Regions from separate parts of the Homo sapiens genome. Here region 2 is linked to region 1. Evidence: promoter capture Hi-C in 16 types of primary human blood cells and fetal thymus (Javierre and others, 2016). All regions are on one chromosome and are shown on one strand. The core of a region is centred on a gene start or on the middle of the fragment in contact, and the rest is flanking DNA. Distances in the headings are between cores, read along the strand shown.

Region 1 (2,700 bases), core at 34-2,533:
GTAAATACACTTTAACCTGGAATGTCAAGATAATTAAGACAAAATTGGATTATTAAGATTATTATTAGTGAGGGCAAATGACATCTAAGATAGCCATGTTAAAAGTGGAGTATCATATTAAAAAGACAACTAGATCCCAGGGAACATCAATAGAGTTTAAGTCCATTGAACAGATACTGAATTCTTTTTCATAATCTGCCAAAAAAAGGTTAGCTTGAAAATTTTCTTTTAGTTTCTCAAATATCACACTGCTGCAGTACACGAACCTTTACTCATTAATAACTAAGGTCCTGATTTTTTTCATATGCTTTGCTCGAAGATGTAGTATTTTGCAGCCATAGACAGTCTTCTAAGATCTCTCCTAGTGTTAACCCACCTATCCTCACCTCTCCCTTGAGATTTTTCTTTATTTTTTGATGAACTATCTGGGCTTTTAAACTTTGTTAACCTTTTTTGAGGATACGGTCACTTAATCTCAATGTAATTTTACTTTCCACAGTCAAAAACTATTGTGTAATACTCATGCACTGGATTTAAATGACTGCTGCCTCTCCTTCCTTTCTTTTTATACTATTGTGGTCTAGGTAAGGCTGATTCTTCCATCATTTGAACCAACAGGCCAGGCTTGGGTTCTCATAAAGCAGACCTTCCAGCAGGAGCGACCAAAGGATGACACTGTCACCTGAAATTGGACTGCTGTTGTACCTGACTTGGGAACATCTTTGAATCAGACAGTAGAAGTGGCTGTCATTTTCAGGGACAGTAGAAAGTATGTTGGCTCTCATCTGCCAAGTAGGCAAACACAATCTTTTTTTTTTTTTTTTCCTTCCAACGTTCTAGGGAGCTCAGCCTCAGGGCTAGCCGCAGCCCCCCACACCCCGGGGCTGCGGTGGGCTGCGCGGTGGATCAGCCTCAGCAGCCCCTGCTCCAGCCTGTAGGGTGAACCGGCCGCTTTCCCAGCAAAGGAGCAATCGAGCTGAGGGTAGCGCCTCCTCCGCAGGAGGGGGCGGGAGCTCGGCTGAGAAAGCTTTCCTAGGGAGTTGCCTTAAAGAAAGAAAGCGGAATTGTCGATCACTCCAGTTGCCAGTTTTATACAATTTTAAGCAGTCGTCGCCACTCGTTTCCCCTTTGCAAAACTGCAAATCACCACCAACCTTGCATCAAATAGAAGTGGGGAGGGAAAAAAAAAGCAAATCTCCTTCTCCCTTCTCACCCTCCCTTTCTTCTCACCCTCCCTTCCTCTCTTACTCGCTCCTTCTCCCTCCCTCCCTTCTGCGGCTGCCGCTAGTCTCTCGGTCTGGCTCTCTCTCCGACGGGACTTAGCAACTTCTTATTTCTCAGCCCCTTGTCCATTTTTTTTTTTCCATCCTTTGCCATGAATTGGATTGACAGAGGCGGGGGAGGCTTTGCTTTCTGCCCCAGGGAATGGCGATTCGCGTCCTGGGGCCGTGCCGGGGAGAATCGGCCGAGGAGAAAGAAAGAGTGATAGAAAAAGAGCTGCAGGAAGGAGGAGAAGGGAGACCTCCATCTGCCGCGGGCCCGGCGCGCTGCAGCGCAGCGCAGCGCCGAGCTGCGCCTCGGAATGGCCCGGAGCCCGCCCTGCGCCCCCGGCTCCTCCAGCGTCAGCGGCTCCTGCGCGCGGGATGCATTGGGCAATTTTTGAAATCCTGAAGTAGGAAGAGACCCCGGAGGATATAAGTCGGGGGTGGGGGTGGAGCAGAGAATCTGTGAAAGATATTCAAAGAGAGAAAAGGGGAATCCTGATCGTTTCTGCCCGTGCTTGTTTTCAACTTGAGCGTGCTAGCCTTTAACTTGAAGAAGTCTCATTGGAGCATCTAGCATTCTCCAGGAGTTATTCGAAAGCTGAAACTTTCAGTGGATTGTGGGCCTGGGGAGAAGAAGGATTCCGAGGGTGGAATTGGGAAGAGCGTGCGTGCGTGTGTGTGTGTGTGTGTGTGCGCGCGCGCGCGTGGGTCGGGGCGGGGGCGTCGGGGGGCCACTGGGAATTCAGTGAAGAGGGCACCCTATACCATGGCAGTGCCCGGCGACGCTGCACGAGTCAGGGACAAGCCCGTCCACAGTGGGGTGAGTCAAGCCCCCACGGCGGGCCGGGACTGCCACCATCGTGCGGACCCCGCATCGCCGCGGGACTCGGGCTGCCGTGGCTGCTGGGGAGACCTGGTGCTGCAGCCGCTCCGGAGCTCTCGGAAACTTTCCTCCGCGCTGTGCGCGGGCTCCCTGTCCTTTCTGCTGGCGCTGCTGGTGAGGCTGGTCCGCGGGGAGGTCGGCTGTGACCTGGAGCAGTGTAAGGAGGCGGCGGCGGCGGAGGAGGAGGAAGCAGCCCCGGGAGCAGAAGGGGGCGTCTTCCCGGGGCCTCGGGGAGGTGCTCCCGGGGGCGGTGCGCGGCTCAGCCCCTGGCTGCAGCCCTCGGCGCTGCTCTTCAGTCTCCTGTGTGCCTTCTTCTGGATGGGCTTGTACCTCCTGCGCGCCGGGGTGCGCCTGCCTCTGGCTGTCGCGCTGCTGGCCGCCTGCTGCGGGGGGGAAGCGCTCGTCCAGATTGGGCTGGGCGTCGGGGAGGATCACTTACTCTCACTCCCCGCCGCGGGGGTGGTGCTCAGCTGCTTGGCCGCCGCGACATGGCTGGTGCTGAGGCTGAGGCTGGGCGTCCTCATGATCGCCTTGACTAGCGCGGTCAGGACC
Region 2 (2,700 bases), core at 193-2,692, 2.2 Mb before region 1:
GGTCTCCATGAATTTATCTCAGACTTTCTCTTCAACTTTATTGTTCATGGATACCCTTTGAAAACTTCTACATCTGACTTATCAAAGTCAGAAGTACATTGCTCAAATTTGTAATGCTATTTCATAACTTCCTGCCTTGGCAAATTTTGTTCTCTCTGCCTGGAAGTTATAAACGCGTCTTTCTAAACTTAGTTCAAGAGTCTCCCCTGGAAAATCTCAAAAATAGTTAATTAACTTTCTCCATTGTCACATGCTATATTTTGCATAGAAAAATATTTAGCACTTACAATACTTTTTACTCAAAATTATCGCCTATCTAAAACAATAATTCATAGTCTCCATGTTATGAGAAACTATCACTATCTTTAGGAAAGAGAAAATTTATTCCCACAGGTTTAAAAAATGAAATATTTACTTTTCAAGTAAAAGAATGTCAACTTCTGCCTATATTAGGAGAAACAAAAGAGAACGTTGCAAATAAAAAAAAAATTATTGCTTCATTGGCTCAACACCAGCTATGCACTGGTGATACAAAGATAAATAAGGAAGTCCCTTCCAATATTACACAATACGTAGAATGGCATTGAATTGTAATTGCATGTAACTCATGAAAACGCATGCTGTTTTTTAGGACCTAACATCCATGTAAATTATGACTCCACTATATCTTCAAACAACAATGAAACATTAGGCAGCATGCACTTTCAGTCAAGTTAACTGTATATTATACTCCAAGACACTACCATACATGTAACAGTAATGGATAAATTATAAAAAGTTAAAAATTATAAAGATATCAGGTAGTCAAAAAACAAAAGAAGTGCAAGACAAGGGTGGGAACTGAGCTCATTATTTCAAGCCATGCAATTCCTTAAATTATTTCTTATGAAATGAAGCCAGATAAAATTGCCATGTTCTGCTGCTACTGAAAATTATATGAAGATGCAAAGTTTTCTAGTATCACTGTTGGACAGGAAATCAGAATTGCTAATCTAAGATTTCATTCTGCACTAGAATTCCTAAACAATTGAGTGCAGTCAACCAAAAAGCTAAAAGATATGCACAGTTTACAGAAAGTGAAAAGTCCTACTCCACTGAGCCTGAAATTAAAAATTCCAAAATAAATAATCAAATCTAACAATGAGAATAATGATCCAAAACACTAACACTTGAAAGCTGCTTTCACACCAGATAAAATGAAAACAACCAAAGTGTTTTAAAAGATAAAAACAGGAGCAAGTATGTTCAGTCTGTAGAAAGCTAAATAAAAGAATCATTAAAGAATCAACTCCAAAAGTGAAAAAGGGCAATTAAAAATGATATAAAAAGTGAATAGAGAGAATATCTAAAAAATCAACACATTATCTCTAGAAGAAAAACATTCAATAGAAGAGATGTGAACAAAATCAAATAATTAATAGAAGACAATGAGGAATTTTCTTGGTGTGCAGTAATGAGAGACAAGTAAATTTTTAAAATATAAAGGAGCAGCTAAGAGACATAAAGAATAAATTGAGAGTCTTCAACTCTAACAGGAATCCAAGAAGCGTGGCCGAATGGTAGGAAATCATTTAAAGAAACAAAAGCTCAGTGAAATACTTGAGTCTTGACAGAAAACTTACATTCATCAGAAATTAAAGATAATCAATTATAAATGTAGATAGAGAAGAAAGTCAGATCGCTGAAAAGAAATTAGAGACAATTAGACTTTCAATATACTTATCAGCAATAAAAAATACTGGAAGACAAAAGTATGATGTTCTTAATGTGCCAAAGAAAAATAACTTTCCACTGAAATTTCTATTTTTGGCCACACTAACATTCAAGAAGACTGATAAAGATATTTTCAGGTATTAAAAAATGAGAAAATTCATAGTCCCCAAATTCACACTGAAAGGCTTATTAAAATATATGCTTGGCCGGGCACGGTGCTTCATGCCTTTAATCCCTGCACTTTGGGAGGCCAAGGCGGGCAGATCACGAGGTCGGGAAATCGAGACCATCCTGGCTAACACAGTGAAGCCTCATCTCTACTAAAAATACAGAAAATCAGCAAGGCATGATGGCACGCACTTGTAGTCCCACCTACTCAGGAAGCTGATGCAGGAGAATCGCTTGAACCCAGGAGGCGGAGGTTGCAGTGAGCCGAGATCATGCCACTGCACTCTAGCCTGGGTGACAGAGCAAGACTCCGTCTCAAAAAAAAAAAAAAAAAAAAAAAATATATATATATATATATATGTATATATATATATACTTATACAAGAAGAAAACAGCCAAGATAGATAGGAGTAGTCATATGAATATTATGATGTAAAATGGCAAATTGAATTAGTTATTGATTTATGAATCATAGCATAGCTAATTGGAAACTAAAAAATATAAATGATAAAACTAAGATTGTAATTAGTACTACTGGGAGGGGAATGGTTCAGAGTTAAAGGGCTGACGTTTCTTGTCTTTTAAAGATGGGAGAGAATAATGTTGCAAGATTTTAAGTTGTGTTAAAGAACTTAGTTATATATGTATGTTCCACACTTAAAGCTAAGTATTGTAATAGACAAATACTCTATCACTTCTAAAACAACAGAAGCATGAGAAAGAGAGTAAGAATACATATTCTGTCCAAACAAATTTATAAAACAAAAGAAAGTGAGGAATTTAAAAAATAGAACTGGGAAATAAAAAACACAACATAAG

What was found. The method cuts DNA at HindIII sites, captures the fragments that hold promoters and counts their contacts. A CHiCAGO score of 5 or more calls a contact.
Region 2: a contact is called between a fragment that was not itself captured here and the fragment with the promoter of PDE3A in region 1, in 1 of 17 cell types (M2 macrophages). The highest score is 6.3, in M2 macrophages.

What each region holds. Positions count from the first base shown.
Region 1 is chr12:20,367,254-20,369,953 of GRCh38, forward strand. It overlaps PDE3A (phosphodiesterase 3A), which reads left to right and starts at 1,284. Exons shown (of 16, transcript NM_000921.5): 1 at 1,284-2,700. The coding sequence starts at 2,032. PDE3A-AS1 (PDE3A antisense RNA 1) reads right to left here. Exons shown (of 2, transcript NR_186033.1): 1 at 2,588-2,700. RefSeq lists a silencer at 2,322-2,616. The HindIII fragment of the contact is 3,200 bases long and covers 1,026-2,700 here.
Region 2 is chr12:18,146,022-18,148,721 of GRCh38, forward strand. No RefSeq gene overlaps it. Among named protein-coding and RNA genes, the nearest start is that of RERGL, 57 kb to the left of the region's middle. The HindIII fragment of the contact is 4,588 bases long and covers 1-2,700 here.